Linked DNA regions of Homo sapiens: regions 1 and 3 are each linked to region 2. Evidence: promoter capture Hi-C in 16 types of primary human blood cells and fetal thymus (Javierre and others, 2016). All regions are on one chromosome and are shown on one strand. The core of a region is centred on a gene start or on the middle of the fragment in contact, and the rest is flanking DNA. Distances in the headings are between cores, read along the strand shown. Region 1 overlaps SLC9A9 (solute carrier family 9 member A9). Region 2 holds the start of HLMR1 (hepatic lncRNA metabolic regulator 1). Region 3 overlaps SLC9A9 (solute carrier family 9 member A9).

Region 1 (3,472 bases), core at 82-2,581, 840 kb after region 2:
CTCACTGTGTCACCCAGACTGGAGAGCAGTGGCCTGATCTTGGGTCACTGCAACCTCTGTCTCCCAGGTTCAAGTGATTCTCCTGCCTCAGCCTTCTGAATAGTTGGAACTACAGGTGCCACCACCTTGCCTGGCTAATTTTTAAAAAATATTTTTAGTAGAGACGGGGTTTCCCTATGTTGGCCAGGCTGGTCTAGAACTCCTGACCTCAGGTAATCTGCCTGCCTTGGCCTCCCAAAGTGCTGGGATTACAAGCATAAGCCACCATGCCCAGCCTTAGACTGCAAGAGTTCTAAAGCTTTTTCCACATGTCCCATAATTCTATCATTTCAGTATACTAGTTATTGTTTTGCAAATTTATTCTTAAAAAGTATGGTAATCATGGCCACAATTGCTGTAAGCAATGGGAAAGCAGTATCTGTATCATTAATACCACTATGATCTGAGTGCGCTTGAGCTAGAATTCATGAGAATTCTGCTAATATTATGGTTATGGTGTTTATAACACGTTTCACTCAGGAGGTATGCTTCTTGCCTGGACCTCTAGATATTTCTGCAGAGGACAGAGTGAAACAACTGAGGTTGGACTAGAGTAACATGTCCAACTTCCTGCATGTTATTCATGCCAGGGTGTCTTTGGGCAGGACCGGGTAACAAGAGCTTAGAAGATGAATTTCCCATACTGAGTAAATTTATTTACCCCTTCCCTATCATATACACAGATGAGATGGCGCTGCCTTTCAGGTGATTTGGTTTGTGAAACAGTAAGTGTCTGTGTATGTGTGTGTGTGTGTGTGTGTGTGTGTGTGTGTGTGTTTACAGAAAATTAACTTCAAGGGCCACATTAACTGTTTGTTTGTTTGGAGGGAGGATAGTTCCACGGACAAATGTCTTGTTAACCTCAACTAGAAAGCTCTCTCTGGCCAGTGACTCACCTCATTCTTATATACCTGTAGCATCACACCTATTGAAAAGAACACCATAGACTCCTTGGTTTCTATTATTTTGTGGTAAGGAACTTTAAGTACAGTCTTGTTTCAATGGAGGTACAACAGTTTAGAATTTCTTTAATAGCAAGTGTGTTTGTCTATCCTTTACAACACAATTTTTTTAAAGTTCAATACATGTTTAAAAATTGCCTATTTCTTTGAAGAAATGGCTATTTAGATGCCTAATTTCCAACCATCTTTATCACTTCACGCATTTCTATGCCCTTTTTCCATCTTATAACCTAATGATTATAAAGAGGAAGTTTAATGATTTAGAATTAACTATACAGGTAGTAATTATGTCTCTCACTTCCTCAGAAGTTTTTTAATAATCAAAATATATTTTCTTGAAGACAGCTGGTGTAAATGCTAATGTTTGCTTTGCTGTTAAATTTTGGACAAGGCAATTAAAGGTAAATAGATGACAGCTATTGAGATGCTTTCCATAACTACTCCCTTTGCCCTTCCAGCTAGACTTTTCCATCTTTCTCACCACTTTCTTTTCCTTCTTATTCTTCACACTACCTCCTCTCCTCACTGTCACACAGGGCTCACTGACTGACTGCCAGACACCCAGGGTACACATATCAGGGGCTCCTCACTCTCATTTATTCTCAGCGAGGGGGAAAATCAGAGAAACATTTCTACCTAAAAATAATGATGATTCCTGTGATAATAAGTAATCAAAAGAATACCACTTGTTAAGGGGGCACTGCATATCTGGCATTATTCTAAGAGTGTCATGTATATTAATTTATTTAATCTTCACAACAACCTACCCTGTATTTTATGCCCAAGTTATAGATGTTGAGAAAGATTCTTCTATTTTGTTTAAGGGATGAAAGTTTCATCTCTTGGTATGAGATGTACCACATTTCCCTGTGCATGTGCTGTAGTGATAGAATACTTCTTACAAGGCATTGGAACTACAGGGGATATATCTCATATAACATAGGAGGAACCTGTTTAAGATATCAAAGAATTATTTTAGAGAAAATAACTCCTAATTACGCATACAATAAGACACATAGATTATGTATAATATGGCTAGAGATGTACAGTGCTATATGCATAATAGGTACCTAACAGGTGTTGAACAAATGACATGGCGTATTAGTGTTCTGTGCATGTGTCTTCATTCAGCAAAATGTGGAGCCCATGAAGGGAAATGGGATTTCTTGGGAAAGTTTCCAATGCTGACATCCTAATGCTATTTAATTGAAAACAAGATTAGACTCTTGCCACTGTGCAACAGTGTGTATAAATGTTTGTATTTTATCACTTTGACAAGATGTTTTATATTGACATATGAAGAGCAAAAATACAATCAGATCTTTTAGTCTGTCATAAAAGGTTAAGCATGGCATAGTGTTTAAAAGCTTGTTTCTACTCAGGTTGCCCCATTTGCATTTGCTATCTTTGTGACTTTGGCCGAGTTATCTTTTCTGTGCCTTAGTTTCCTCACTTGTATGGGGAGAAGAAACAACATGATAGCATTATCAGGATTAAAGGAGATAAACATATGTAAAATACTTGGCAAGTGATACATAGTATTATAGATAGTAAATATTATTACTGCTCATAATTAAAAATGAAATAAGGAGCTGCCAAAGTAGATGCAAATAAAATTGTATTTTGTAATCTTAATAATACAAAAAGGGTTTCTCTAACCCTCATTACAATCTAAACTCGCCTGGGACCCTGCTCTGGGAAAGCAGTATCTGTATTATACGTTTCCTATACCCAGAAATCTAACTTCTCTTTATTCCCCTTGATGGATTCATGTAATCTCTACCCATGTTAACATTAGCCAAAACAAGCCCATATTGAATTCAATCGCATAACCAGTCCAGTCTATTTAATGTTTTATTCTTCTGTCCCTAAAGTATTCCTCTGAAACAAAAGCAAAGCCAGAGGTAAGTACAAGAAAACTTGAGAACTGCTTCTTTTCCACACTGTTATAAATGCTCTCTTTTGCTATTTTCTAAGAGTAGTCCTGTGCCTTCCAAATCTCCAGGAAGCTATGCTAACTTGTAATTCCATGTGAGCTAAAGAATAAAAAGTCCATACAAAAATACAAGAATATAGCAGCAAGTTATGCCCAATACTGACCTGAAACATTAATATCCCAGGAAAAGGTCAATAAAGTACAGCAATTTGTATTAGATAAAGAAGAGCATATGCTCTGGCTGCTATTCAAAACCTTTTCTCCTCAGTGTGACTCAAGGATGGATGATGTTTACATGCAGAATACACTCCCTTAGTGCAGAGATAAAATAGGCCAAGGGTTGTGTGGAATCCCTAGGGAGCTAACTGCAACTGTGGTTACTTTTTCTCTTATTCAAGAGACGTGTATCTGAATGCAATAAGTATGAGTGCTTATAAATAGCCTGAAATTTATTCTAACTATATTAAAAATATGACTAATTCTCTCATGTTGATACTTTATCATTCATAATAAATTGCTTATACCATTTCATATT
Region 2 (3,970 bases), core at 835-3,334:
AGTGCTGGGATTACAGGCATGAGCCACCATGCCCAGCCTACATTTTTCAATTCTATTGCAATGTTTTTGATCTGTAGCATTTCTTTTTGGTTCTTTCTTAGAATTTCCATTTCTCTGCTTACCTTGCCCATCTGTTCTTGCATGCTGTCCTCTTTATCCATTAAAGCTGAGCACATTAATCATAGTGGTTTTAAATTTCTGGTTTGATAATTTCAACATCTTTGCCATATCTGAATCTGGTTCTGATACTTGTTCTGTCTCTTCAAACTGTGGGTTTTTTTTTCTTTTTTGTATGTCTTGTTTTTGTTTTTGTTTTTCTTTTTTGGATAGCAGGAATGATACGTGTCCTGGGTAAAAGGAACTGCTGTCAACAGGCCTTTAGTTAGGTGGTGGTAAGATCTGTGGGGAGAGGAAGTGTTCTCCTCAGTCTTTCAGTGAGCCCATTACTCTGGATTGTGAACTTCATGTGCCTCTAGGTCCCTTCCCCCACCTCACCTTAGGTGGGACAGGATGGCTGGAATGGACTTGAGTTGGATATTTAACCCCAGCAGGTCAGGCTCTGGTTACATAGTTTCTCCTGAGGACAGACCTTGTTAAGAACATAATGCTCTAGCATATTTCAAAATGGCTCCTTTTCCCCTCCCACTGCTGGAAGCAGGAGGGGATTTTTTTCCCTAATATTCACTGTGAGACCTGGTAGTGCTCCTGGAGGTAAAACCCACAAAAGTGTGGGGACCTCTCTATGATTCAGTTCCCCTGGATTTTTATCTCTCAGACTTGTTCACACTTGTCTGAGAACTGGCTCCAGCAATTCACAGTTACAAGTTCAGACTTTTCTGTGCCAGCACTGGTTCCCATGGAGGTTTCTGCTCTTGAAGTTGTGATTCTCTGTATTTGCCTGTTGGTCTTCCCAATTTTGGGGGAAGCAATTTGTCCTGTGCCATCACTTCTCTTATAGAGCTAAGAAGAGTTGTTGATTTTTCACTGCTTTTTTTTTTTTTTTTTTGAGACAAGAATATCGCTCTGTCACCCAGGCTGGAGTGCAATGGTGCAATCTCGGCTCTCTACAACCTCCACCTCCCAGGCTCAAGCAATTCTCATGCCTCAGCCTCCCGAGTAGCTGGGACCACAGGTGTGCACCACCATGCCTGGCTAATTTGGTTTTTCAGTTTGTTCAGCTTTTTACTCATTAGGACAGAGTGGCAACTTCCAAATTTCTTACATGCTGAACCAGAAACTGTTTTGTTAGTTTTTTAGGATTCACTTTAAGTCTTTTCCTCCAGGGAGACTTCCCCAACTTTCAGGTCTGCATTAGGGACCCCTATGATGTGCTCCTGTAGATGCTTTTTGTTTCCCATAGCTTTTATACATATTGTGATTGTCAATTCACTTGTCAGATTCCCCCGTTAGACTGTTGGCTCTGTGTGGAAAGGACGGTTTGCCTTACTCATTCCTGTATTCTCAGCACCATCCATCAATGCCTGACATATAATAGGTATTGAATAAATATGTGTTGGGTGAATAAATGAATGAATGGAAGAGCTTATTCTCTGTAATTACAAATAAATTAGAAGCAGCTGTTAAATATAATTCATTCATTCAATCAATCACTATTTACTAAAAGCCTATCATGTGCCAGGCACTAGGTTAAGAAACTGATGATGAAAAAGCCACATAAATATGGAAACATGTTTGTAACACAATCTAATGAAAAAAAACCAGAATACATGTATGTACACCATAATTTAAACTCTTTAAAATATGTAGGAGGCAGGCTGGTATTGCACAGTGGTTTTAAGATTTTCTATTTTTAGTTAAAGTCTCTTTCTTCAAATGAAATCTTAGAAGGACAATGTATAAAACATAAAAAGCAAGATTTTCTGCTTGATGCGGGGGCAGAGGCCAGAGCCTGCCTACCCTTTTCCTAGTCTGCTCTCCTGTCTGTCCTCTGTGCTACTGCCACCTTCCCAAGCCAGAAGTAAGCCACTGTGGCACCTTCACAGAGGATTATTTGAAAATTCCCAAAATAGACTTCTGGTTAAACATTGCAGTTTAAAAACCTGTGTTTTTCTTTCATCTCTTTCAAAATGCTACTAAAATGACAGCAAAGAAGCCAAAAAGGCCCAAGTCCACAAGACAGAAAGAATAGGTGAAAAGTCCATGTCATCTCATTTTTGGAGATGGACATGGACAGGGGCTGAAACTGCAGTACCAGCAGATGGGGAGCTTAAGAAGGAAGCTAGTTCATGGCACAGCACCCGTAAAGTCCCCAGAATTGGAGGCACCAGATTCTTCTGAAAGAAAAGGTAAGAGGCGGAGCTGAAAACAGGAGGTTTATGGAAAGTCCTTGGAGAAAGCAGTCAGACCTCTGGATTCCTTCCTCATCTTTCAGCAGCCTCTCTCTTGTCCTGGCAGAAACCAGGTTTACTCTCTTGGGAAACTCAACCACAGGAGGATCTGGGGACACAGACCGGCGAAGGATGGTAGAGATGCATCACTGAACTAGGAGAATTAAATGATTGGCTTAGGGTTGGGAATGCGACCTCAACTGGATCAGTTGAGGCCATCCTTGGCATTTTTAAATTCTGAAGCTGGAAGTGTGGGGAGGATAGTGTGTGTATTCTGCAGGTGTTGAGGTCCTTGTTCTAGTCCTTGAGATTCCTGGCTCCGACTGTTTCCTGTAACTCTTTAATTCTATGAAACACCCAGTATTCTTCTATTTTATTCTGCTCAGGCTGCATTAACAAAGTATTACAGACTGGGTGGCTAAAAATGGGAATTTAATTCCTTGTGACTTTGGAGACTAGAAATCTGAGATCCAGGTGTCATGGAGGTTGGTTTCACTCTGGAAACTCTCTTCTTGCTTGCATATAGGCCTCCTCTCTGTGCCTTCACTTGGCCTTCCCTCTGTGTGTGTCTTTGTCCTAATCTCACTTTCTTACAGGGACACCAGTTAGATTAGATTGGGATCCATCCGAATGACCTCAATTTACCCTGATTACCTCTTTAAAGGCCCTATGCCAAATATGGTTATATTTGGAGGTTCTGGGAGTTAGGACTTCAACACATGAATTGTGGGGGGACAAAATTCAGCCCACAATGCCTTCTACTATTGCCAGCAAATAAATAGCTTTTGAGATAACTTAAGAGATTTTAAATTTAGTTTCTGGTGCTTGCACGCAAAGAGTTCTGACTTATACTATTCACTTGCCTCTTGGATATTGCCTTTTGTCCATTATAGTTGTCATTAACTGTTATTTAAATCCGCATTACCATTCACCTTTTCCTATGTTTCTGTTCCTTAAGATGGGAGGTAGATCATAGTTTGCATAGCCCATGGAGTCAGATGACCAAAGTTGTAAAGTTCTGTTTGCTGGCTGCCTGATCTTGGTGAAGTTCTCTGTGCCTCAATTTCCTTATCTGTAAACTGGGGATGGTGATAATAACAGATATTCACAGAGTTGTTGTGAAGATTAAACGTCTTAATGAATGTAAAGCACTTAGACCAACCTGGCTTATGGCGAGTGTTACATAAGTTCATGCTATCATTTATTCATTCAGTAGTCTCTATAGGGAATAGCCATGTGCCATGGATGTGGTAGATACTTAGTAAATATTCATTCTCTCTTGTTAATGTATGTGTTATAATAAGTGATTCTCAAAGTTATCTTCAAATTCTTATTACTCTGTATATTGTTATCTGCCAGTGTAATGATATCTAAAGCACATATCTTAAATACTTTAAACAATCTGATATAACAAACAAAGATAGAGCCATTTTCTTCTACATTGGAAGCTGTGCTGTGTAGGATGAGAGACTGGGGTGGAAGTAGGGATTGCAGGCTTCTGGTCCTGGCTATACCCTCACACTGTGAGACTCTGAACAAGCCTATACTCTCTGGGCTCTGCCTCCTTTATTTACACACCAAGGCTGGACTATGTAAGCTTTAGGCTCTTTAATGTTTTATAT
Region 3 (3,992 bases), core at 715-3,214, 750 kb after region 2:
GTGCAGCTCACACATCACCTGAGCAGCCGTAACCATAGTAACCCCAAATAGAAAGGGGCTTCAGATTATCAACACCATCAAAGGTAAGATAGTTCATGTGCCTCTGCAATAGTTACACTACAGCAAACTTTAAAGGATAAAGGTGGCTTTTATTCCTACTACTTAAATGTTAAATGAAAATAATGACTTGCAAGTACAGTGTATAGAAATGCCTTTCATTTTGGAAGACTCTTATTTCCTCAAAGTGTTAATAATAGAAAAGATGAAAACTCAATGCTATACATTTCTCCAGTGCTTCTATCTGATTATGGCGAGGGGACAGTAATCATCATTTTGCCAAGTTGGAGAATTCATACAGGGAAAACCCCACCCATAGGAGCCCTGCAGGATGAGAAGCTGGACGAGAAGGCATATTCTGTGTCCATGCACTCAGTGAGAGGATGGCTATGGTTAGTGATGATTGTCGACACGAATTACCTGCAATAAGGTATAGATGGTGACTTAGGGTGTAGACTGGCAGTCAAATCACAAAGAAAATGCACATTTAATTAGAGAAGGAGTGGAACTGGTTTGAAATATCAGTGAAATACCAATCCAAATACAAATCTGTATTTGGCTTTATAATTTATGGTTGGGGTAGGATGGAGTAGGGAAGGGTGGGAGGGCAGGGCATAAAAGGCCAGCAAGACCATACTTATTAATTATATTGTTAATTAATAATATTAATAATATTGATTATTCTATCAGAGGAACTATGATCTAGATAATCCAAAACAGAGACTAGTAGAAAAGACTTTCTGACAACATTTCCTAATGTTCAATATGTCTAGGGGGGCAGCATCTGGAAACATGGAGAAAATATTCTAAATTTTAAATATTTAAGTGTATAGTAGCTATTACAAAAAGCAGAAATTCCACATGAGGATAAATATAATTTTATTAATTTTTTCTTTTTAGTCTCTTTACATTTGAGATTTACCGTGGAAGTGGATGGACAAGTAATGAAAACATAAGAAAACAAATTCTTTAATTATGGTCATGTAGGAAGAAAATGGTATCTGGAAATTTTATGTTCAGGAATAAATAGGAATATCATGATAGTGTTATCTAAAAATCCAATAAAGTGCCTGAGAAGAATTCACTGCTAATAAAAATGTGTTTTAAAACACTTAGCAATTTACACATAATTTTCCATACAGCTCTTCATTTGATCTGACAAAAATTCTTTGAAGAAATGGAAGGTACTTTCTGTTTTGTTTTGTTTTGATAGTCTCTATTTTAAGGAAGTGGAAAGTGAGGTTCCAATAAGTTAAAGCATTAAACTGTGATGCTCCATTCACCCATGACACTAATCTTGCCTTAATGAACTGACACTTTTGATATCCAGGACGCTCTGACCACCAATCCCAACCTCATTTTTAGGAAATTTTTCTACCCTTATTACGTGCTTATTTTATTTTTAGTGGAAGGCTCCTCTTGGGATTAGTTTATGAGACATCCCTAACTGTGATCCTTTTATGCAGGCAATTTCACAGGGCCTCTCTTAGATGCTTTCACCCATAAACACACGAGCAGTGCCAGCGCCCTGGTTCACACTTCCCCTTGAAACCGGTGCGCCCCAGAATTAGAGCGACACCTAGCCGTGATTTTAGGTAGTACATGCTAGGAAAGCTTATTTGGGCAAGGGAGACAAACAAGAGACATCAGAGCTGGTGGCATCTCAAGAGGATACTACTCCCAGAGGTAGAAATCTCAGAGGTTTTCTAACAGCACTTTCTACTGGGAACTAGGACTCCTGCAGTTCACATTCTCTGAGGAGGAACTATATGATAAGGGAAGTTTATTATAATTATAATAAAAGGTAAGATGTGCACCCTTGAAATTACATACAGGTTCTACCAGTGCAATAAATGATATCTATTTCAGATTAAAAATATCAGTTCCAAGCCTCCTTCATCTCAATAATTCTTGACATTTACTCAGAAAAGCAAATATTTCATTCAGTTTTTATATTCATCGGGGCTGTGGACTAGTGCTACTAGCATCAACGAGACACTTGTTAGAAATGGGGTGTTGGACTTGACCCTGGACCTACGGAATCAGAATTTCAGGAGGCAGAACCCCCTAATTAGTACTTTCAGACTCTCCAAGTGAGTTTTACGTTCACTCACATTGGAGAACCTACTAATATAGAGCAAGAAGTAATCTTAAAAATCATCTAATTCCTCTAGGAATATATTAGGCAAATAAGGCCTAGAAAGCTTAAGTGGCCACCTTGAATTTTCCCTGCACATCAGAAATATGCCTTGTGCATAGTAACAGGGATTGAACTAGACCTGAGGTCTCCTAACTCCCAATAATAAAAATAGCATAGTGCTATGACACTTGTCAAGTGCAGGCTGGTTGGGCAAAACATTAGCTAAACAGAGACTTTGACTTTGTATCTATATTCCTCCTGGCTTCTAATTTCAGTAAATGAATTATCATCCATGCATTTAATTTAGGCACCAGACAGGATAATCCACAGTAAATTTTCTAAATTCAATTAACATGAGCCAGTAGTAGTCTCCTTATGAAAGCCAACAACGAGGGCTCAGGGCTTCATCAAGCACTTGGGATTCTTAGCACACTTTAGCTACTGGAGCAAGCAGAGATGTGTGACTTACATGTAATATGAGAAGTCATTGATTTTCATTTCTTTTTTCACTTCACGGCAGACACAATATCATACTGAGTTTGAAGATTTTCCTTTAAGATTTTCTCATTATACTTCAGAGTGATTTACTAATATCATATAAAAATGATTGGTTATTTTCTCATTTTTATGAAATTTTGAAGTTTTCAAGTGTACAGATGTGTTTCCACATAAATCCATAAATATGATCATAATATGCATACTCTTTGTTTAGTCGTTTGCTTTAATAGTCTTTTTTCTTTTCCTTTTTGGTATGTCTCTCTTTTTTCCACCTCTTCCTCTCTTAAACTCATATCTCCTCTCTCCCCAAGTAACCCAATTTTACAACGCAGTACAGAGGTCCTCAATGTTTTTGGCACCAGGGACAGGTTTCTCGTGGGGGATGGGGAGGAGGGCGAGGTGGGGATGGTTTCGGAATGAAACTTCCACCTCAGCTCATCAGGCATTAGATTCTCATGAGGAGCACACAACCTAGATCCCTCGCATGCGCAGTTCACAATAGGGTTCACACTTCTATGACAATCTAATGCTGCCGCTGATCTGACAGGAGGTAAAGCCCAGGTGGTTATGCTGGCTGGCCTGCCACTCACCTCCTGCTGTGCAGCTTGGTTCCTAACAAGCCACAGACCTGTACCCGTCTGTGGCCCGGGAGGCTGGGGACACCTGACCTAGTATATGTCCTACCAATTTCTCTTTATACTAAAATTCTCATTATAACAATTACACACACACTTGTAACAATGTTAAATTAGATGTTTAAAATGAGAAACAAAGCAAAAACAAACAAACAAACAAAACAAACAAAAACACATGTTATGTAGTGAGATGTACAATCTTAAAAGCAGCTGGGTGTGGTGGCTCATGCCTGTAATCCCAGTAATTTGGGAGGCTGAGGAGGGCGGATCATGAGGTCAGGAGAGCGACACCATCCTGCTCAACATGGTGAAACCCTGTCCCTACCAAAAATACAAAAATTAGCTGGGCGTGGCGGCGTGTGTCTGTAGTTACAGCTACTCGGGAGGCTGAGGCAGGAGAATCGCTTGAACCCAGGAGGCGGAAGTTGCAGTGAGCCGAGATCACGCCACTGCACTCCAGCCTGGGGACAGAGTGAGACTCCTTCTCAAACAAACAAACAAACAAAAACAAACAAAACAAAACAAAAAAACCCAGCACGTGTCTGAAAACCAGTTACATGACTCCATTGAACCTCTCTGCCATTTAAGAATGTGAAAGATCCTAGACTAGAGGTTAAGATCTGTGAAGGGAGTTCTTTTACTACTTGTGAGTTGTAAATCTG

Evidence for each region. The method cuts DNA at HindIII sites, captures the fragments that hold promoters and counts their contacts. A CHiCAGO score of 5 or more calls a contact.
Region 1: a contact is called between a fragment that was not itself captured here and the fragment with the promoter of HLMR1 in region 2, in 1 of 17 cell types (endothelial precursors). The highest score is 6.4, in endothelial precursors.
Region 3: a fragment that was not itself captured here is called in contact with the fragment with the promoter of HLMR1 in region 2 in 1 of 17 cell types (naive B cells); the score reaches 5.3 in naive B cells.

What each region holds. Positions count from the first base shown.
Region 1 is chr3:143,766,598-143,770,069 of GRCh38, forward strand. All of the region lies in intron 4 of SLC9A9 (solute carrier family 9 member A9), which reads right to left. Among named protein-coding and RNA genes, the nearest start is that of SLC9A9, 80 kb to the right of the region's middle. The HindIII fragment of the contact is 2,070 bases long and covers 297-2,366 here.
Region 2 is chr3:142,924,591-142,928,560 of GRCh38, forward strand. It overlaps HLMR1 (hepatic lncRNA metabolic regulator 1), which reads left to right and starts at 2,085. Exons shown (of 5, transcript NR_038455.1): 1 at 2,085-2,306. The HindIII fragment of the contact is 9,222 bases long and covers 1-3,943 here.
Region 3 is chr3:143,672,919-143,676,910 of GRCh38, forward strand. All of the region lies in intron 5 of SLC9A9 (solute carrier family 9 member A9), which reads right to left. Among named protein-coding and RNA genes, the nearest start is that of SLC9A9, 170 kb to the right of the region's middle. The HindIII fragment of the contact is 590 bases long and covers 1,670-2,259 here.